4 separate regions of the Homo sapiens genome follow, and regions 1, 2 and 3 are each linked to region 4. The links are contacts of gene promoters, found by promoter capture Hi-C in blood cells and fetal thymus (Javierre and others, 2016). All regions are on one chromosome and are shown on one strand. The core of a region is centred on a gene start or on the middle of the fragment in contact, and the rest is flanking DNA. Distances in the headings are between cores, read along the strand shown. Region 1 has its middle 82 kb from the start of SGIP1. Region 2 overlaps C1orf141 (chromosome 1 open reading frame 141). Region 3 overlaps IL23R (interleukin 23 receptor). Region 4 holds the start of DYNLT5 (dynein light chain Tctex-type family member 5).

Region 1 (5,455 bases), core at 1,595-4,094, 300 kb before region 4:
CACAGGAGTCCCACAAAAATATGAGACTCAAAGAAGAGCTGAATGATTGATGCTTATATATTATGGAATCCTGAGCTACAGACAGAAAGAGGGGTTTGGGGCTCCTAAGGAGTAGTGGGGACAAGTTATGGAAGGATGAGGGGGGGGAAATGTACAGTGAATAAATGTGGTCTCATTATACAGATAAGGATCTCTCAGGTGGTAAGAGTTGTCTCAGGAGCAGCTCTTTCCTTAATACAGATATCTTTATTAATAAAAATTTTCCTTAGAGATGCACATTTATTTTACAAAAGGGTAGCTATTCAGAGCGCTCTTGCATCTAGTTTCTCAAAATAATCTGCTAATAAATAGCATGCCCAAGAGGAATATTTAGGGGTGATTTGTCCTGAGCTCCAACAGTTTTTTAGAGCTACTGTAACAAAATACCACAAACTGGGTGGCTTAGAACCACGGGCATATTTAATGTCTCACAGTTCTGAAGACTAGAAATCTAAAATCAAGTTGTTGGCAGGGCCACACTCTCTGTGAAGCCTCTCGGGGAAAATCTGTTCCATGTCTGTCTCCTAGTTTCTGGAGTTACCAGTAATCTTCATCACTCTAACCTCTGCCTCCTGCGTCATTACACAGCATCTCCCTGTGTGTCTGGGTCTCTGTGTCTCCTCTCCTCTAACAAGGATACCAGCCTTATTGGATTAGGGACCCACCCTACTCCAGCATGACCTCATCTTAATTATATGTTAACTTAATTACATTTGCAACAACCTTATTTCCAAATACAGTCATATTTGGAGGTTCTGGGAAGCACATGACTTTTAGGGGACACTATCCAACACAGTACATGGGTGTTTGGTTTAAATCTTGGCTCTGCTACCAATTAGCTACGTAAACTTGAACAAGCTAGTGGCTATTTTGAGCACCCTGTTTTCTTATCTGTAAAGTGAGGACAAGAATACTCACTCCATAGACCTTTTGTGAGGATTACTGTGAAGGGCTGTGCTTGTGCCTATTGCAGAGTAAATACTTAGCAGGAGAGAGCTATTATTTTTGTTTTCACTGTCAGAAAAAATTTTTTTTAACAAATTTAAAGACAGAGAAAAAAGAATCACCTTGTCAGTGGACCAAAACATGCCATTTAAACAAAGCAAGCTTTGGGAAGCACCATGTCAACCTAACATTCGTTTCTCTCTCACATTATATTTAGTACCTAGTAAAAAACCTAATTTAGCTCAGGATATACTAGGTTCTAGTTAACTGATTGTTTCTGATGCAGGAGATAACATTTGCATCTATTTCAGTCTCAGGCTAAGAGGCTCAGAAAAGATACACAATTTTAGCTAAGAGTACCTGCCTAATCTAAAAGTATCTATTGCTACATTTTTTCATTTTTTTTTTCCTACTCTGCACAAGCTTGACTTTCCAGTTCATTTTAACTTGATGTCAAGTATATCCAAGGCCTTTTGGTTAAGAGAAGGGAGCCGTATAATCTACTTGACAGAAAATAGCTTCCTTATCAACCTAATTAAATTTCTCTTCATTAAGGTTGCATATTATGGATTTAAAGATATGTTATCTGGGAAGGTTATGATACTAACTTATAAGAAATTATTAACATTTTAGGATGTATTATTTTTCCAATAAATTAGACCCTTAAGAGGGCAGTTCTTTCTGAGGTGAGGAAGGAGGTTCAGGAACATTCCAGAGCCTGGTTCACTTCAGGGTACACTTTTTATCTGGGAAAAGGTAGTGAGAGGGTAACTGAGAGCCTCTGAGAGGCAACAGATTTGCCACCTGAGAAAAAAGCCCCTGAGGCAATGACTGTGTTACTTACATGTGTATAATGTTCCATGTGCTCCTCTGAAAATACCCATGTGGCTTTGTGTACACATATATTTAAAGAATGTGTAAGCAAATATAAGCAGGTTATGAAACATACACACAAAACAAAAAGAAGTTGGGTGCTGGAGACACCCTGCCAGAGCCCACAGTTAAGCTCCCCACATCCCAGCCTGTGATCTGGGCAAGTAACAGAAGTTCATTGGGCCGGTTACATCAGAGCCCCTAGGGTTATTTTAAAGATTAACTTTGTTACTATTGTAAAACACGTAGAATATTGCTTTACACAATATAGGTTTTTAAAACGTCCTTAGTAATTCGCTTTTTTCTTCCTGCCAAAGACATGAAGATGTTGTGCCTCTATTTGTTCTTCATAATCTCATTATGAGTTTTGCTTTGGAACAGTAGGTTATAATCACCTGAGGATTCCCTTTTGAGTTGATGAACAGGATGAAGCTAGCCCGTTTCCAGCTGAATCTACATCAAATTAAGGAAAGCAAAAATATTTTTTAAAGAACAGACTGATGTTTAGTAATGGAAGCAATAGTATTTTAGTAGTGAAAAAAAAAAAAAGGCAGTGCCTGCTATAAAGACTGACAGCCTGAAAAACCTAGTATGTCTCTGTGGGTGGATGCTAACACAGTTCTTTATTTTTATTTATTCATTAATTATGTTGTTTGGTAGAGACTGAGTCTCACTATGTTGCCCAGGCTGGTCTTGAACTCCTGGCCTTAAGCAATCCTCCCACGTCAGCCTCCCAAAGCACTGGAATTACAGGTGTGAGCCATGGTGCCCAGCCCAACAGTTTTTACTAGTACCAAAGTAAAGAAGATTTTTAAAAAGGCATATTCTGTCTTATTGCCGTTGTTTCTAATCAGGAAGGCAAACAATGTAGACAGGAACAAGTTTAACCTTTGGGGGAAGTGTTTGTTTAGTAAATATCACATTGTTTAATCCAAGAAGCCCTTTTCCTTCAATCTGTTAGCAAACAGAGGCCTCCCTGAAAATCAGTGTTGTGCATCTTAAATAAATATCTTGACTGGACCAGACCAGCTGGGTCTGACCACAAGGGGAAGCATATTCTGACATTAGGCTTTCTCTCATCAACAGGTTGGATGTGATGGGCCATTGAAAAAGGGATGATGGGTCCTTAGGTATAAGGAGCTGATGGGCTTATGGAGAGAGCCAGATGTGAATGCATTTTGAATGGGCTGATTCCTTGCAATGTATTTTTTTTCAAATTATTCTATTATCATAATGATCACAAGAAACAATGGTAAGTCCCTGTGTATTTTCAGTCTATATATGCCCTGGGCCCTGTTATTAGCCTCCTCCTTCCCCCAGGATGTGTAGAAACATCAAATAGAGCCTACTAAGTCTCAGACATTATTATAAATAGTTGGATACAACAGTGAGGGCCTCTGACCTCATGGAGTTTACAATCTAGAGAGGAAAGGGGGCTACCCTGGTTTAGGTGTCCAGGGAAAGCATCCCCCGAGAAGTGACCCTTAAGCACAGACATGAATTGGTGATAGAACCATGTGATGAGGGGCTCCAAAGCCAGACTGCTTGAGGTCAAAATCCTGGTTCTGTGTGAAGTTTCCAGAACTTTCTATGTCTTGACTTTCCTATCTGTAAAATGGAGATGAGAGTAATTGCTTCATGGTGTTGCGAGGATTAAATGGTTTAGCAGTATATCGTCAATCATAAGGCCGTATTTTTTCCCTACATTTTGACATCTCAAGATCAAGAACTTCTTAGAATGAATAGGGCTTACACTCACTGATGGGCATGCAGCAGTCCTGATAAAGTGGTTAATGATTGCTTAGGAGCTAAGACAGTTGCTGTCCCAGGTGGCATGACACATTTGCATCTGCTCTGTGCCACAAACCATTAAGGACCATTTGAGGAAGAAACATGAAGCCTGATTGTTGGAAAACATTTTGTGTGACACCCTGTAGTCAGATCTAAGATGCTCAAGTATCAAAACTGGGAAATGGGTGTCAGCAGCTTGGAAGAAAATTCTGGAACTGGAATCCCGGAGTGAAGTATTGGTAAAAAATATGACAGTATGAGTCTCTTCATGGCTCTGACATCATTATGTAGACAAACCCGGACTTTGGCAATTCTGTCAAAACTGATTGAGAATGGGCAGACTCCAAATGTAAAGAAGGCTTAGAAATTGATTAAATAATTTATTTTACTTATATTTTCCTTTTTATGTGTGAACAAGTATGATCTCTAATTTTTAAAATTACATCCAAATAAGGATCATTTTTCAATAAGAACAAATAAAAATTCAAAGTGACAAGAAAGCATGGCTCATATTTAATTGGCCACAGTTTTTTTCTTTCTTAGTGGCTCATAAAATAATAATACATCTTACAAAGGATGCATCTTAGAGTCCATGAAAGGTTGGTGAATCTTTTACAACAGTGCCTGGCAGTAGCAAGCTTTTGGTAAACCATTATCAGTATTTCTCGGTTCTTTTGGGGACAATGGTGCTCACCTCTAAGTTTTACTGCTCAGTGTACATCTCTCACTTTCTAAGCAAATCTCTTCATTAGGCTCTTACTACAATTCATGGAGAAAGGAATAAGAGCTAGCACAGAGGAGGTGCTCAGTAATTATTTATTGATTAAATGAATGAATGACTAGATTCCTGCTAAGCCCCCTCCTATTTCAGAGAGCAAGTGTAAGAAACTTCCATTGCCTCTCTAAGGACTGTCCTTGTCAGAAGCTACCCTAAAATTGTAGGCCTTTCCTCTCTCCACCCAGCACTCCAAGTCATAATTTGCTTTCCAGGATGGTGTGTCTCTGCTGTAGCCTGGGATAGAATGGGGCGGCAGAGGTCCCCCTTTACCCCGCTTTGTGCATTGCATGCTCTCAAAGTCTGGCACATTAAGCTATACAGATATATGCAAATTTATATACTGAAGTCCTGGTATAAATTATAGCTCTGTAAGAATACTCTTCTAGTCGTCTTTCTCTCCACCTTATCGTCTCATTCTTCACCCATCTCTCTCTCTCTCTCTCTCACACACACACACGCACACACACACATAAATAAGCACAGGCATTGAGGGGATATTAAAATAATTCTGAGTTGAGGAGAGAGAGTTCCAAGGAATTCAACAGAGAAACTGGTGAGGGCTTTTGAAAAGCAGATGCTGATCCCTGTCCTCCGTGGGTTTAACTCCAAGGTGGTGAATGCACTTAGAGAAAATTGGGGATTTTGGAGTCATGGATGGAGTCCTGTGCTCTGCTTCTCTTGTGTACTGGGAGGCAGCAAGCACCCATTCCCTATGTCATCATGGTTTTGGGAGTAGAGAGGAGACACTGTCTGAGACTTCCAGGCCCAAGGGCCAGAGGCAGACTCTGAGCTCCTTCACTGGCTGTCAGAGCATTGAGAGGAGCACCGTGCTTCTGGTGCAGCCTAGAGAATCGTGGATGTGACGCTGGAAAGTAAAGGAGCTGACGGTGCCTGGAGGCCAGGGCAATTCCCCCATTATGCTATTGTCAGGAGACTCTGAGAGCCCCCAGAAACCTAAATGCCATAGCAGAGGGAAAAAAAATTGGGAAAAAGTATAAAGGGACAGCATTTTTCCTGAATCACCTAAGA
Region 2 (6,219 bases), core at 1,241-3,740, 360 kb after region 4:
AAAACACCTTAAAAGGCTAGATTGAATATTTTTTAAAGTCTAAAGAGAATCATTGACTTAAAAGATGATAAGGGATCCCTGGTCTTAAATCTAGGAGAAGATAAGAACTCAGATAGGGAAGCCCAACATGCCAAGCCACTTTTTCCCTGAGAGTATTTGTGATGTGAAGGTAAGATCAAGTTTTGGAAGCTTCATGGCTTGAGATAGAAAAAAACAAAAAGCTGACCAAAGGTCCAAAGTTTTGATATTTAAATGTTCTCCAGTTCCCTTCCCCCACACACAAAAAACCCCCACACCTATTCATTTTACCTGGGATCCAAAAGGGTTACAACCTTAGGGTGAACTAGAATAGTTAAGATTGCCACCTGGATGTTTTAGGGAAAGTGAAGCCTTGAATGCTTTAGTATGTTCTGACAAGTACTGCCTCCATATACCTGGCATAAACAATAAAAAAAAAAAAAATCTTTTCTGGAGTAACGTATCATCACCCTAGTTCTCAAATTGTTCCTATAAATAATTTTCCAAATACCGTCCAGCACACATTCAAAGATAATAAGACACATAAGGAAATATGACATTATGAAAGTGAATCATGAGAAATAAAATAACAATGTGTATAACAAATCCTTTGAGAAATCAAGTTATGAAGCATAATAGAGAAATTAAGCAATAGGGGGTGATGTGGAGTCAAGAAACCTCAGTTAAGAAGGTTGATGAGAATTATGCAATTGAATGATTGTTTGATAATGGAGAGAAAGAGAAAAACGAAGGCAACACGAAAAGCTCAAATTCTCTGAGAACTGATAATGCTGATTCCTAGCTCACGGACTCCTAAAATTTCTTTTTTATTTTGAGATGGAGTCTCGCTCTTGTCACCCAGGCTGGAGTGCAGTGGCACGATCTCAGCTCACTGCAGCCTCTGCCTCCTGGGTTCAAGCGATTCTTCTGCCTAGTCTCCTGAGTAGCTGGGATTACAGGCACGCACCACCATGCCCGGCTAATTTTTGTACGTTTAATAGAGACGGGGTTTCGCCATGTTGGCCAGGCTGGTCTCGAACTCCTGACCTCAGGGGATCCACCCGCCTCGGCCTCCCAAAGTGCTGGGATTAGAGGCGTAAGCCAGCGTGCCCACCCAGCCAGATTCCTAAAATTTCTAACTTGAAAGTAAGTTTCTATTAAGCAAGCTGTTCATACTTGACTTCTAAAAAACAATAACAAGGAAATTCTCAGCATTGAGCTGAAAGGAAACTCAGAGATTTTCTTTCTAGAAGAAAACAACACATAACACTATAAACATAAAAATATATTCCTATTTTGTGAATTGTATAAATTGTCCATTCTGATATTTAACATCTCTTCTTCTTAGTAAGTTCTTTTTTATAGTTCATGGAAATGCTTTTGACAGAGATCAAATTATCAAGAACCTTTAAGACACACATCGGTAAATAATAAAATAAATAAAGCACCCATTAATAAATCAAAGAAGTAAATATGTTACACAAAGCATTACCTGTTGACTCACTTTCTTTATTTTTTACATTTGTTTGAATAAAGAATGGTCTTAAATTTGACTTTTCAAAATTACTCTTTCTAGGTTCAGGCTCACATTTGAAAGAGACATGCCTGGAAGAAATAAAAATTAATTTAAATTAAAATAATGAGAAAAATTACAAAATAAATCTAAAAAATAAATTTGGAGGAATGTGAAGTCCTAGTTATACAGACTTGGATGTTATGTTAATGTTGTCACAGTACCAAGTGTGAAACATTGGACTGATTAAATAGGAGCTGAAAATATTAGTTTTAGTCGTTTAAAGTGGAGGGGGACAGAAAACTACTTGCTGCTGTGATAGCATTGAGGGCACTCCAAGAAACTTATTCACAAGCTGATTAACCCTTTCAGAAAAATATGCTGGAAATAACTTCAGTGAGACATTGAGGACATTACTGGACCTGAATCAAAGTGGTGGGACATAGAGTTAGGGAATTCAGGTACTAGAAAGGATCACAGCATTTATTTATTGTAAAGACAAATTATCCTCCTCTAAATTACTTAACTGGCTAGTGATGGTATATTAGAAAATTAATAGTATTACATAATTGATACTCTTTCTGACCTCTAAATGCTAGAACAACCCATGACTCAGCCCTCAGACCTCAGATACTCACCCTTAGTTGGTATAAGCCAGTCCCACACTGTAACTGTTGTCTATAGGCCAATGTCCCAAATTTATAGTCCAGACTCTAACCTCTTCTCTGAACTTCAGATTTATATATCCAACTGCCCACATGACTCCTGCACTTAGCTTAATTATAAGTATCTTGAACTTAACATATTCAAAACCAAATTATTGATTCCACCATCCCCTTCCTGATCTTCTCCTCACCCAGGTTTCCCCATCTCCATTCAACCAGAGGGTTAGGCCAAAAAGTTTGCAGAAATCTTTTATTTCTCTTTCTCTCTTTTTCCACTCCCAACCTATCAGCAAATACTGTGTCTTTCTTTGAAATAGATTCCAAATCCAAACACCTCTTTCCTCATTGCTCCCAACCAAATCCAAGACCCCTTTATTTTTCATCTGAACCCCTTCCCTATGTCTCTAGCCTTCTTCTGTTTGCTCTCCCTGCTATTACACTTGTCCTCAACATTCTCTTCGCAATACAGCCATAGCAACACTTGTAAAATACAAATGTGACTATCATTTCCTTCAACTGTTTCCTATCAGACTTGATTAAAATTCAAAATGCTCCCTAACAGACAGAAACTTTTCCCCCAGTTCTCATTTCTAAGTAGCAGAATTTCCACTGAATGCCACTCCAGGCCTCTCTCTGCATACCCCTTCACCTCTCAGCTCCACATGAACGCTGAGCAAATTTTCTACCTGTTTGGTTCAGGGAAAGGAATTTAGGCTCCACTTAAGGACCTTGCTCTTTCCTCTGCCTGTAGTATTCTCCCCACAAGGGGTTGACGTGGCCTACTCTTTCATTTCAGTCTCCACTCACATTTCCACCTCTTCAGAAAGAACTTTCCAGCCCACCCCACTTCCCCCATCTAAAATAGTAATCCCTGTTGATTTTAATTCCCTTAATTTACTATATTTTCCTTTATAGAATTCATCACTGGTAAATTTATATTATATATTCATTTGTTTATTTAGTTTATTATCTCTCTCCCCATCTTATCCTAGATTGTAAACTCTGAGGGCACACTATTTATGTGTTTTATTCACTGTGGTATTTTAGCACCTATAGCATGACTGGTACATAGTACATGTTTAATATTCATTGAATGCCTAATAGGCCGGGCGCGGTGGCTAATGCCTGTAATCCCAACACTTTGAGAGGCTGAGGGGGGTGGATTACCTGAGGTCAGTAGTTCAAGACCAGCCTGGCCAACATGGCGAAACCCCATCTCTACTAAAAATACAAAAATTAGCTGGGTGTGGTGGCATGTGCCTCTAGTCCCAGCTACTCGGGAGGCTGAGGCAGGAGAATTGCTTGAATCCAGGAGGCAGAGGTTGCAGTGAGCTGAGATCGTGCCACTGCACTCCAGCCTGGGTGACAGAGAGAGATTCTGTCTCGAAAGAAAAAAAAAATTATTGAATGCATAAGATTTTTGGTAAATTTTTATTGAACTTTCTTATCATCGTACTTTTTAATGGGTTTTCAGTTTGTTCTCTCTTTTAAAAATAATTATGTAATCTCCGTAAAACAATTTATCTGTTCCTTTCAAAAAATGTATCTTATGTTCTTATTAATATCATTGGGGAGGACTTCTAGGAGAGTGTAGTATACTAGTGAGAATGGGCATTGTTCTGTTTCTAACTTGAATGAGAATGAGTCAAGGGTTTCTAAGGATGATGCTGGCTATATAGTCTTGTTAAGGAGGTAATATTTTATCCTTATCTTAAAAATACTTATATTGCTAAAGTATGTTTTTCAAATTCATTTGCAGAGTATATAAAGATATTCAGATATGAATTTCCTTGTGGTGAACCAAAGAGCATAGGCTTTGAAGTTAGACCTTACTTTGCATCTTGACTCTATGTGAACTTCCATAGAATATTGAATACTCTGAATCTCAGTCCTTCATGTGTCAAATAAGGTTAATAGTTATCTCAAGGGATTGTTGTAAGAATTAAGTAAAATAAAGTTTAGAAAGTGATCAACAAAATGTCATAGAGATAAATGAGGATACTCTTTCTTATTCCTGAAATTTACTCCACTTAGTCATAGTGGAGTAATATTTATTTAATATAGTGTTGGATTTCATTTTGTTAAAATAAGTTGTTGAGTGGCAATTATTCCGTTGCCTTAGAATTGGTGACCAGGTGACTTTTTACTCCACAGCTGAGTAAAAAGGAGCAATACATACTCTGTATTCTACAAAGATCCACCAATACTTGGAGCAAGAGATTCTTTTAGGCCTTCAAATAAAAGAAAACTGGTGGGGGAAAAAAGAAAAATATCAGAATTGTGAGTCATTGACCTGTTAGGGTCTGCTGTGGCTTTTTCCTCTTTTCTCAATGTGGGAGGGGCAGGGATGCTTCCTCCACAAAACTGATGAGGGAGTTCCCAAAGAATCACTCATAGAGACTGGCATCTTATTCCTCAGTTGCACATCTGTTAGACACCACACTTGCTGATTTGCCCCATGTCAAATTTGGAGTGAGTGGAATAAGCAAGTAAAGTAGACACCCTGCACCACACTGTTTGGCATGGCCAGGATACTTGAGTTTCTGGGGAAATGCTGGGGACTGAATGTTTGTATCCCCCTCAAATTCAAATGCTGAAGCTTAAATCTCTAACGTTATGGTATTTGGAAGTGGGAGCTTTGGGAGATAATTAGGTTATGAGGGTATAGCCTCATGAAAAGGATTTGTGTTCTTCTAAGAAGAGTTGGTCTAACTCCTTCTCTCCCTGTCTCTGTATTTGCCTTTCTCTCTATCTCCTCATGACGTGAAGATACAAAGAAACAGCTGTCTGCAAACCAGGAAGAATACCCTCACCAGACACCCAATCTGCTGGAACTTTGATCTTGGACTTCCTGGCCTCGAGAATTGTGAGAAACAAATTTCTGTTGTTTAAGCCACCCAGGCTATGGTGTGCTGTTGTAGCAGCCCATACTAAGACAGAAATTAGTAATGAGCAGTGGGGTGCTGCTGTAACAAGTACTTGAATATGTGGCAGTGGCTTTGGAATTTGTTAATGGGTAGAGGCTGGAAGAGTTTGGAAGTGCATGCTAGAAAATGCTGACATTGCCATGAAGGAGATTTTAAAGGTGACTTTGGTGAGGGCTTAAAAAGAAAAGAGAAAAGCTTCCATTTTCTTAGAGACTCCATAAATAATGATGAACAAAATGTTGGTAGAAATATGGATGGTAAGGGCCATTCTGATGAGATCTCAGATGGAAGTAAATAACATGTTATTGGAAACTGGAGGAAAGGTGGTGCTTGTTATAAAATGTCAAAGAACTTGGCTTAATTGTGTTTGTGTTTTAGTATTTTGTGGAATGCAGAACTTGCAGGCAATGAAATTGGATAGTTAGCTGACGTTAGTTCTAAGCAAAGTGTTGAGGAGTGATTTGGTTCCTACTGATGTTTATAGTAAAATGCAAGAGGAAAGAAATGAATTGAAGATGAAATTATTAAGGAAAAAGGAACCAGAAGTTAAAGATTTGAAAAATTTTCAGCCTGCTCATATTACAAAAGAATGAAAAAGTATGCTTGGGAGAGAACACTAAAGGTATAGTAAGTTGACTGTTTGATAGGTAGGTCAGTGTGGATGTGTAACAAGGACCAAATCAGCCATCTCAACAGAAGCCAGGAATAGAGATGGGATTATACCAGCAGAAACACTGCCAGCTGGGACTAAGGGAAACAGAGAAAGTGGGAAAAAATGAAAGAAAACTGTTGAACTTCTTAGATTCTACAGGACCAGATCATAGAGCTACTGTATGCAGCTGTTCAGCTATAACTGTGCACTATTTTTCAAGACAAGGGAAGAAGGACCTCAAAAGCAATTCAAAGATAATCAGGGATGCCACTCCCACAACAGGCCCAGAGGGCATGTGCTCAGGGGACAGGGCTGCCTCCACTTCTATTTCAAAGGGTAAGACCCCTGCCCAGTGGAGCCATGGGTGTGCAACTCCCGCTAGGCAGAGCTTCAGAGGTGAGACCCCTGCCTGAGTGGGTTCTGGAGGCAGGACCACTAGTCTAG
Region 3 (5,518 bases), core at 2,112-4,611, 440 kb after region 4:
AGTGCTGGCCAGGCGCAGTGGCACACGCTTGTAATCCCAGCACTTTGGGAGGCTGAGGCAGATGGATCACTTGAGGTCCGGAGTTCAAGACCAGCCTGGCCAATATGGTGAAACCCCATCTCTACTAAGAATACAAAAATTAGCAGGGCATGTAATCCCAGCTACTTGGGAGGCTGAGGCAGGAGAATCGCTTGAACCTGGGAGGTGAAGGTTGCAGTGAGCTGAGTTCATGCCATTGCACTCCAGCCTGGGCTACAGAGTGAGACTCCATCTCAAAAAACAAAAAAATAAAAGAAAAATAAAAAAACTCAAGTGCAGTCACTTAAATAGACATGGACTTATTTATATCAGGTCATAATTATATGTAGTAACAGATGGCATGATAATTCAGTAATACCCCAGGGATCTAGGCTCTTTTCCTCTTTCTACTCTGCCATCTTCAGTGTGTTGACCTTAATCTTCAGATGCTGTATCTCCAGGCTTCTTATCCAAGTTCCAGGCAGGAAAAGTGGTAAAGAGCAAAGGAGTTCCTCCTGTGGACTTCGACCTACACTGAGTTGGCCACAACAGTGTCACATGTCTACTCTGTCTGGATGGGAACCTGGCAGAAGGGCATTGTAAATGGAGTTGGATACCGTCATCCAACAGTATCTGCCATAGTTGCTAGCTGTGTAATCTTAGAAGAGTTATTTAGCCTTGCTGAGCCTCAGCCTCCTGTGAAATGAGGATAATTAATGCCACAAAGCTTATAAAAAAGCAAATTATAGGAAGTGACTTGCATATAGGAAATGCTTAGAATTAAGTACAACACAAAATGATGTCTTAGTCCCTTCAGGTGACTATGACAAAGCACCTAGACTGCGTAATTTGTAAAAAACAGAAATTCGTTGCTCACAGTTCTGGAGGCTAGGAAGTCCCAGATCAAGTGTCAACAGATTTTGAAGGTCTGTTCTTCATAGATGGTGACTTCTATATGTTCTCACATAGTAGAAGGGGCCAGGCAGCTCCCTTCAACCTCTTTTATAGGGGCACTAAATTGATTCATGAGGGAAAAGCCCTCATGACTTAACCACTTTCTAAAGGCCCCACCTCTTAATACTATTACATTGGGGTTTAAGTTTCAACATGTAAATTTTGAGGGTACACTAATATTCAGACTATAGCAAAGGATATTATAATATTATGGCCTAAGGGAAACCTGACCGATTTGATTGAGGGAAATATTAATGTAAAGCCATAAAAATTATTATTTATAGGATATTATAGATAATTTTATTCATATATTTTTAAGTAATACAATAATTTTGGAAAAATCTAGAAAGAGATGTTGCATGTGCTCTAATAGAAAGACTTATTTTTTGTATGTCAATAGTACATTTATTCATTCAAACTAGAATGTAGGCTTAATGTGGGCAAGAATTTTTGTTTGATTTTTTCATTGCTATGTTGATTGAATCTAGAATGGGGCCTGACACATAGTAAATGCTCAATAAATATTTGTTGAGTAATTATTCTAGTTGATAACTAGAAATAGACATTTCCTGAATCTCCCCTTCACTGTCTAGTTAAGTAATAATATAAGGTCATATATATTTTATAAATTATTTTTCCCATCTTCTTTCTTAAAATCCAACAATAAACTATAACCAAACTCTGATAAACCTAACCAAGTTCTGAATTGATGGAGGCCAGATTAATGGGATTTTATTACATTCTAAACAGGACATAAAAGATATAAAAGGTTAGAATAAAAGTGAATGTTCTCCTCTAGAAAAGTCAAAGGACTAACTTATAAATATAGACAGGTCAGAAAAGGAAACAAACACCTATTTATCTAATGATTAGTTACAAACAAACTAATGAGTTGAAAAAAATTAGAGAAGAGGGCTGGGCGCAGTGGCTCATGCCTGTAATCCCAGCACTTTGGGAGGCTGAGGCAGGTGGATTGCTTGAGCTCAGGAGTTTGAGACCAACCTGGGCAACATGGCGAAAAATACAAAAAATATAAAAATTTCTACAAAAAATACAAAAACTAGCCAGGCGTGTTGGCGGGTGCCTGGAGTCCAAGCTACTTGGGAAGATGGCTTGAACCCAGGAGGCAGAGGTTGCAGTGAGCCACTGTACTCCAGCCTGGGCGACTTAGCCAGACCCTGTCTCAAAAAAAAAGAAAGAAAAGAGCAAGTCAATTTCCCTAACTACCAGAAAAAATCTTTCCCTCAAGGAGAAAGCTGACTTATAATGAATGTTGTGGTCGAGGTAGTATTATGTTTAAAGGAGCTCTTCTAAACGTTCAGTTATTAGGGTATTTTCCACATTGGTAACTAGGCAGAGATCAGCATGTGCAAGGTTTCACTTCTAACTCATGTGGTTCAGTTTTCCAGTAAAATCACATGTAGAGAGAAGCTTTTTACCTGAGACCACCTACTCATTTCTCCAGTTGCAGAAAGGCAGTGTTTCCCCTATGGCAACATAGGTGCCATCACAGGCCTCCTCATGTTGGGGTGAAGTTGTAAAGTAGAATTTTGTCTGTTTTGCTTCAAGAGCTTTCTTTCTTCCCAGCTCCTTTGCGGTGGCCTCACCAGACAGAGCCTCCTGGCTGTTCACATACCTTCTTTTACCTCCTGTATTTTGCTGTTTCAAAGGGTAATGATAGGGAAAAAAAAAAACCAAAAAAAAAACAAAACCAGTGCTAATAACCATCTCCCTACTGTAGTCCCACTATCTTCAGCAATTTCATGTAAATATATTTTTTATTTATCTTGGAAACACTGGTAATGTCTGGCTCAGTGTATTCTACTCCATAAATATTTGTTGAATAAAAATGCATGAATGATAGCCCTGCATTCTGTTCCATTCAAGTCATCTTAGCAAATATTTATTTAGCATTTGATGGTTTCCTGGAATTGTATTAAACTGTAGATATTTAAAAAAAAGAGATCATCTCTGTGCATGACAAGCTCATAAACAGTTTAGAATAACATCAATGTTGGGATTTTCACGCACCGTAGAAGACCAATAAGGCAAATGTTTTCAGATGCAGTATCATGTTAGAGCCCTTAAATTCAGCGGCCTACTCTGCTAATTCATAAGGCCTGTTTGTTTTTGCCACAGCTTCTCTACATGCATATTTTTAATAACCAGAAAGAGTTCTTAGGTGTGATTCCAAATACTATTTTTAAGGCTACGTTAGGTTTCAGTAATTCCTTTAGGACTCAAAATGTAGTTTATATTTTAGAATCCATTTCCTCACTGATTATGAGCCCAGAGAGCTAATTGTGGCTGGAGACAAACAGAACCTTGCTGACTGATACTGCTTTATATTCATGACCACTAACCTCAACTGGGCCCGGAGAGCCACACAGTAATCCTACTACATTTCACTAGCCAAGTCACTGTCTTGCTAAGCCAGGTCATTGCTTCATTACTTTTTCTGTCATCTCTCCTCTCTAGTATCTTCCCTTCCTCACTCTCTATTGAAGACCTGCTTCCTACTTTCCTGAGAAAACAGAAGCAATGAGAAATACCACAGCCTCCCTCATTGACTAATGCATTGACATCTGTACCCATATAGTTGATCTTTCCTGCTATTGCTATGGATGAATTACCATTGCCCTAAGGTCAACTCTCCACTTGGGTACTAGATCTTATCCTGCCTGCCTACTGGAGGACACTGCTCCAAAACTTTCCTCTCTTCCTTCTGCATTGTCATTGTCTCTGTCTTTACTGGATCATTCCCATTGGCTTTTAAGCATGCTGTAGCCTTTGCCCTTTTGAAAAATATAACCCTCCCTTTGTTCCTGACCTCTACCACCCAATTTCTCTGTTTCTTTTTATGAAAAAAAATCAAAAGAGTTGTCTGCACTGTCTGTCTCTATTTTCTCTCTTCTCTTTTATCTAGTTTAGTCATGTTTTATGTCCTCACCACTCCACTGAAACAGCTCCTGTCAAAGTCACTGATGATTTCCCCATTGCCAGATTGAATGGCTTATTCTCAGTCTTTATCTTACTTATGAAACATTTACTATCCGAGCATTTAATGTAGCTCTTCACTTCCTCCATTTGGCTTCCAGGACAGGACTCCCTTTTGCTGCTCCTCCCACCTTCCTGGAAACTTTATCTCAGTCTCTTTTGCTGATTCATCTTCATTTCAGATAAATTCATAGTGACCCAGAGCTCTATATTTTGTCAGCCTAAAAAAAGACACTAGGGAAGATTATCTTCAAATTTGTTGGGTTTACTTGAGAATATAAATAAGGAGTATAATACAGAATGCATGACATGGCAAGCCAGCAGTGCATTTGGTGAGGGAAAGGATAAAGGGAAGCTTTTATTACCAAAAAGGAATATATGTGAGCTATTTAGGAACAGAGTTCATTAGTTCCAGAGGCTCAAAGCCAGAGTGATTGTCAATTAATAAGTGGAGATGTATTACTGGGTAAGCGGTCTTCCAAAAACATCTTATCTGGATTACTGCAGTCCTAAAGGATGTCTAGTGATAAACCTTATCAAAGCAGGGGATGACTGAAAGGTTTTTAGAAAGTCCTTGGGAACAGTTCTTATCTCAGACATGTAAGCATGGGCCTCTTCTCCTTCAGGCCTTTCTTGCCCTATTTTGTCTGGGTCTGACAAAAGTGATTTCATCCTGGTATGTGCAACTTTCACACCTAGGACCTTTTATTATCTCTATTTACAGTCATTACCTAAAGGATAGCCTTCAAATTTGTGGTTTAAAATTCCTCAATGTATATCTGTGTCTAAATATCTCCACCAAATACAGCTGCCATGTTTCTAACCTGTCATTCAAGGTATCTTGAAGTTAACATTTTCAAAACCAAACACCCAGTTTCCTCTCCCAAGACTTGCATTTTCCATTTCAGTAAATGGCAACTGTATCCTTTGCATTATTCAGGTCAAAATCAGGTAGATTCTCCTGGATTCCTCTCTATTATGGCCTTCATCTAATTGATCAGCAAAACCTTCCGGCTCTATCTTTTAAAATGACCTCACCACCTACACTGCAATCCAAGCCAGATCATCTCTCACTTGGGAGTATAAGAACTTCTAACTGGTCCACTCGCTTCCTCCAGAGTCCCTTATTCATGAGTTTTCACAGTAATCCTTTTCACATGCACCTCAGGCCATGTCACCCTTCTGCTCATGAACCTCCCATTTCATTCAGAGATCAAAGCCAGAGTCCCTCAAGGACTCTATGTGACCTTGCAAGTCTTCTAAACTTTCCCCTCTTCCAAAACTCTCTGATTTTGTCTTTAATCCCTTTCCTAGTAAAACCTCACTGACCTCCTTGCTGCTCTTTGAACAGGCCAAGCAAGGTCCTGCCTCAGGGCCTTTGCATGTTACCTAGAATGCTCTTCCTCCAGAGAGCCACAGGGTTTCCTTATTGCCCTAATGTCACCCTCTCAGATAAGACTTTCCTCATCTCTCTAAAAAACAAAAACCTTAAAACCCACCCCTACTCTCAGAACTGCCTAACCTTTTTACTCCGCTTTAGTTTTCTTCT
Region 4 (5,613 bases), core at 1,760-4,259:
TTTGCTGTTTTTTTTTCTTTTTTTGCTTTGCTTTACTTTGCCAATCAGTTACTTTTATACCAAATTAACGAAGTTTCTTTAAAAACTTCCTGGTTAAATTGTCTGTTATCATATAGAAAAGAATCAAACTGAATCACTTTACATTTCTCTAAAGATAGTTCAGTTTTTAATCCATCCAGAGTTTGTGAATCAGCCTGATAGATCATAAGCCATTTATAATTTTTAAACGTTCCATTGAATGAGTATATCATACAAATGTTAATTCCATCTCGCTCATTCAGTTTTACATTACTTTTATGAATTTTTTTTCTCGCAAAGTAAATGCTTGATGTTATTCATTCACCATCACTCTAAGGTATTTTAAATCATACAACAAGTAACTATCACAAGAACCACTGTCCCAAGATCCAAAGTCAGATTTTTTTCCCTTTTCAAGTTGCTAGAATGATAATTCATATAGCTGTGTTGATTTTTCAGGTCAGAATTTAGTTCTTGCTTTGTTAAATGGACATACATGAAAGAGATTGGCTCCTATCTAATTCATATTCTCTCTCTCTCTCTCTCTCTTTCTCTGTGTGTGTGTGGGGGTGTGTGTGTGTGTGTGTGTGTGTGTGTGTGTCTCTTTCCTCTCTGTCTAAGGGGAATTGGAAAATTGCTGCTGAATAATTTTTCTTGAAAAAGCCAAGTGTTGATATGATGATATATTAATCTTATCTATGAACAGAGCTTCACCACAGGCCAAGCAGTAATGTATACAGCTGGCTTTTTAAGCTGTTTGAACACTATTGTTTTCGATTAAAAAGAGTTTTTGTTTGTTTTTCACTTGTATAGTAAAAGATCATATGAATTAAATACTCGGATATTAATTTTCATTCTTACTAAGTGGCCATGTAAGGCATTGATTTTTTTTAAACTTGAACAATGCAAGAATCTAGGAATCTCAGAAAGATTTTGCTGTGTTTCTATAGGTAATGAAATCCTGTCAATTAAGGAAAATGCTGTGTGTAATTTGATTTGGTGGTAGCCTTTATTTAGAGCTCTCTTTGATCTATGTAGCAAAAATACACTAAATTTCTTTTTAATCTTGTACTAAGTACATAATTTCACAAAAATACCTTGGGCATAAAATACTTACAAAACTGTGAATTAAAATACTCAAGATACTTTCAAAATTTAGTCAAAATGTTGATTCCCAGCCTTTTTCCTACACGTCTATTTCAAAAGAGTATACTTTTTTCTGACAGCCATTACTGCTTAGTCTGTAATGAAAGCTTTACTGCTTCTATGCTGTGCTCAAGAGAAAACCAACAACGGAAGCGAAGACTTACTTGCTCCTTCACAGAATTGCAGCAAAGCTCTCTGCTGGGCAATGGTGACAGGAAAGTGTGTAATTGACTTGTTGAAGATAATCATGAGACCATCTTAACATTACTTGCCTTATAAGTTAGAAATAGTATGGATATCACTCTTTGTAAATAATAATTTTTGTAAATGTTTTTTGTTCATAATTTTCCCAATCACCTATTTCACAAAATCCTGAATATGCAATTATTTATTATGACACGTTACTGCAACTAGGGCTCCCATTCCAGAACAAAGTTTAATTCTATATGTAAGTTGTTACTGAAATGTGATTTCTTTTTCTGGAAAATAAATGAAAAATATGAAAATAAATTGAATTGTGAATATCTTTTGCTGTCAGCCTCTTAAAATTTTACCCGCATTTCTGGAAAACTTCATTCCATGTTTAGGGTAGGGATGGTGGGCCAAAGGTCTGTCAAAGGTCAAGGGTTAAGAGTTAGACAAATTTCAGCTCTGTGATTTAAATATCGACTTGAGCATGTTACTCAACGATTCTACATTTCCTTATCTTAAAAAAAAATAGAGTAATGTCCCCTATGTCATAGTCACTGAACAAATTCAATGAGATAATGTTTATTCATCACCTAGCAGTTCCTATCTAGTCCATAGTAGATATTCAATCAACAATCCTTTCCTGTTCTTATCTTTCTGTGAGTAGAGATTGGGATGGGCAAAAATATCTATTTCTCTTCTTCCAACACTATCCTAACACTGTGCTCCACCGGAATCCCAATGTATTACTGTCAGCTAATGCTAATTCCAGCAGGACACTCATCAAGAGCCATGCCCTTGGCTAGATGCTTGGAGGCATCTTGTTTCTGCTTCCAATGATTGCCCACTACAGGAGGGTCCCTATAGTGTTTATTTTGTTTGCTTTTGGTTTGGGGAGGCCCAAACCAGGCTTAGGCTGGGGATAGTCGCTGAAGAAGAGGAAAAGCCCATTCATACCAGCAGGTAGGTCCTCAACCCCAAACAGCCTCATTTCAAAGCTTCTTAGACATTAACAGGCTCAGAAGAGTCTTGTTAAGGAAAGCGAAGGAACCCAGCCCGGTTTGTAACACATTGGAGTTAAGACCATGAGTTTCAGGGGCCTTGGGCATATTATTTAACATTTTAGAATCTCAATTTTCCAAATCCTTTAAAGGGAAAACATTCCTTTCTTGACAGAGTTATTGGGACGACTAAATCCCAATGTTTGTCGGTATCTGGGGTATCTGGCCAATGTAAGTGCTCATTTACCTCCACATTCCACCGCCTGTGCCTTGGAGGGGGAACGTGCGAAGCAGCGTTAGGAGCCGGGAAAAGGGCAGGGCTACTTTACTTTGTCTTTGCGCTTCGGATTTCCTGTGCTAGGAAACCGCAGCACTTCCCACTCCTGCCCCTGATGTCTGCGGGAAAAGGAACTTGATGAGGGGCCCTAGGGGTGCAAATGTCTTTAGTCCCAAATGTCTTCCTCGCTACACAATGAACCAGTTCCCCTCCAGCTCGCCGCCAACCCAGGACGCAGCCCGGCTCAGAGTGACCCCCAGTGGGCAGTGAAGATGAGATCCTCTACATCCTTAGGGCAGCTCAGAGGGCCACTCAGCGGCCAAGTCCGGCCGGGGAGGGCCGAGGGCTCTGTTTGAGGTCACCCTGGAGACCGGCCTCAGAGTCCAGGGAGAGTGCGCGGGCGGCCGCCGGCTGAATGAAGCCTGGGACGCGGGAGCCGCGCCGCGCGCAGTGTCTGCAGTGCCGGAGGTCTGGGAGGCTCCGGGCGAAGCCTCCCTGCTGCAGGTAGGGTCGCCTCTCTCTGCAGCGCGTCTGGACCCCAAAGGAAGGATAGGGGGCAAGGGATCGGCCCTTTGTTGAGAAATGGCCCTACTTGGCCCCGATCTCTCCGCCACCTTATTCCTCCTCTCCCCAACACATAAGAAAAAATGATCCCAAATTTGGGAACTGAAAGTCGGTCCCAACGGTTCGTCCCCTGCCCCATTGCATGGCTGGGGGCTGGGCTTCAAGAGTGATGGCCAACGCAGAGCCGGCCAGCAAGGTCATCCCCTGACCCGGGGCGGTCTTCCTGTGGCTGGCCGCACCCATGAGGACCTCCAGGTCCCAACTCTGGCCTTTCTTGGGGAGGGGGCGGCCTGCAGGGCAGCTTTGGAAACAGCTGAGGCCGAGATGGGTCTATGTGGCTTTGCAGCAAAACCTGAATGACCCACCTAATCAGGCTGTGTGTCTTTCCACACTCATAAACACACTCACCTTCGTACACACGAACACAGACACACTTATACACACAGGCACCTGCACACACAGAGATGCACACTCACAGGTACACACTCAAGGACGCTCACACTCACGTGCACACACACACCACGCTGCCTGCCTCACCCACACACAGCACCTCTGCTCTGACATTGATGCCACTGGGTTTTAGGGTATGTTCTTGTGTGCCCTACCTACTCAACTGCCAGCTCCTTGAAGGCATGGATTCTCTTCTATTTTTATGCTTTGGTGTCTAGCACAGTATTTCCTTATCGGGGCTCTCACATTTATAGATTATGAAATAATTTAAATGAATACTTAAATTTGTAGGTAGACAATGAGGGCATTATTAGAGTTATAGTCCAAGTTCTGGGAAGTCCATTGCTACTACCAGCTTTTTAACAAGTATTAGTAGGAAGGAGGGAGTTTTCCAATAAATTATTTATTTAAAAGTTAAGTCCTATTTGCTCTTTACAAACTATGTAAATGTTGCTCGAGAAAACAAAACAAACAACAAAAAATCTTTGGGAAAGCAAGGTTAATTTTAATTTTTATTTATTTATTTATTTTCTAGCTCCCTACCCCTAATTTTATTTTTTAAAGTCATGGTGGGTCAGGCACAGTGGTTGATGCCTGTAATTCCAGCACTTTGGGAGGCCAAGGCAGGAGGATCACTTAAGGCCAGGAGATTAAGGCCAGCCTGGGCAACACAGAAAGATCTTGTCTCTACAAAAATGTTTAAAAATTAGCTAGGCATGGTGGTGCAGGCCTGTAGTCCTAGCTACTAGGGAGGCTGAGGTGGGTGGACCGCTTGAGCCCAGGAGTTTGAAGTTACGGTGAGCTATGATCATGCCACTGCACTCCAGCCTGGGTAACAAGAGCTAGATCCTGTCTCTAAAATAATAAAATAGGCCAGGTAGAGTGGCTCATGCCTGTAATCCCAGCACTTTGGGAGGCTGAAGCAGGATTGCTTGATCCCAGGAGTTCAAGACCAGCCTGGGCAACATAGACCCTATCTCTACAAAAAATTAAAAATTAGCCCAGCTTGATGGCATACACCTGCAGTCCCAGCTACTCAGGTGGCTGAGTTGGGAGGAACGCTTGAGCCCAGGTGTTTGGGGCAGTAGTGAGCCATGATCATGCCACTGCACTCCAACCTGGGTGACAGAACAAGACCCTGTCTCAAAAATAAAATATAACAGTGACAGCAAATATTAATTAGCAAAGTTGTATTATGGTTACATTTGGGGGGCAATACAAATATTGGTTTCTGATGTAGGATAGCATCTTTCTGCTATACATGCATATCTTTTGTCAATGACCTCCGTCTTCATCAGCTAAGCATTTTTGCTATAGCTTAATATCTGCTTATGTAAATAATTATACTATTGCATAAATAAGCATTTTCAGAGTTATCATAGTTCCAGTTTCACTGATCAGAATAACAACAAATTCTATATATTGCTCTTGAGGAAACCCCACTTTCCTGTTCAAAAATGGTAGGAAAACTATCTGTGTACTTTGAGATTAGTCCCTGTTATACTAACTAAAATGTTTCCGGATCTTTCTTTTGCTATTTTACAAAAGTCTTCTTCCATAGGTTATGATGATGTCAGACAATGCTAAAGGCAGAGCAGCTCATTCATGGAAGAAAAGAGGGAGTATTTCTTCTCTAAGTAATCATGAATTTTGGCGAAAGGAAATTCATGGGCGCATCAAAGAGTGAGTAACTGTCTAAAATTGTAAATTCATTTATTGAATAAATAGGTTCGTAATGTTTATTAGGAGAAAAAAACACTTCCTCGGGGACATAAAAAGAGATAAAATGGGCAAGTACAAGGTGCAGGTCATCTTTAGGGGCCATATTTAAAAAGAAAGAGAAAGAGAGAAAGCTTAAGTGATAAGTTAATCCTAGCAGCATTTTTGCTATTTCAAAAATCATCCCAAAAAACCCTCTGCTCAAAAGAAACACCACATGCAATGTAAACCAGACACGCTTATATGTCT

The links. Contacts are between HindIII fragments. The CHiCAGO score rates a contact against its expected background, and 5 or more counts as called.
Region 1: a fragment that was not itself captured here is called in contact with the fragment with the promoter of DYNLT5 in region 4 in 1 of 17 cell types (endothelial precursors); the score reaches 7.4 in endothelial precursors.
Region 2: a contact is called between a fragment that was not itself captured here and the fragment with the promoter of DYNLT5 in region 4, in 2 of 17 cell types (fetal thymus and activated CD4 T cells). The highest score is 7.4, in fetal thymus.
Region 3: a contact is called between a fragment that was not itself captured here and the fragment with the promoter of DYNLT5 in region 4, in 2 of 17 cell types (fetal thymus and naive CD8 T cells). The highest score is 5.8, in fetal thymus.

Annotation. Positions count from the first base shown.
Region 1 is chr1:66,449,512-66,454,966 of GRCh38, forward strand. No RefSeq gene overlaps it. Among named protein-coding and RNA genes, the nearest start is that of SGIP1, 82 kb to the right of the region's middle. The HindIII fragment of the contact is 2,879 bases long and covers 1,406-4,284 here.
Region 2 is chr1:67,113,842-67,120,060 of GRCh38, forward strand. C1orf141 (chromosome 1 open reading frame 141) reads right to left here. Exons shown (of 8, transcript NM_001276351.2): 5 at 1,511-1,623. Among named protein-coding and RNA genes, the nearest start is that of C1orf141, 18 kb to the right of the region's middle. The HindIII fragment of the contact is 4,606 bases long and covers 188-4,793 here.
Region 3 is chr1:67,187,778-67,193,295 of GRCh38, forward strand. All of the region lies in intron 4 of IL23R (interleukin 23 receptor), which reads left to right. Among named protein-coding and RNA genes, the nearest start is that of IL23R, 24 kb to the left of the region's middle. The HindIII fragment of the contact is 1,921 bases long and covers 2,402-4,322 here.
Region 4 is chr1:66,749,450-66,755,062 of GRCh38, forward strand. It overlaps DYNLT5 (dynein light chain Tctex-type family member 5), which reads left to right and starts at 3,010. Exons shown (of 5, transcript NM_152665.3): 1 at 3,010-3,135; 2 at 5,207-5,328. The coding sequence starts at 5,210. It overlaps SGIP1 (SH3GL interacting endocytic adaptor 1), which reads left to right. Exons shown (of 25, transcript NM_032291.4): 25 at 1-1,690. The HindIII fragment of the contact is 3,147 bases long and covers 2,350-5,496 here.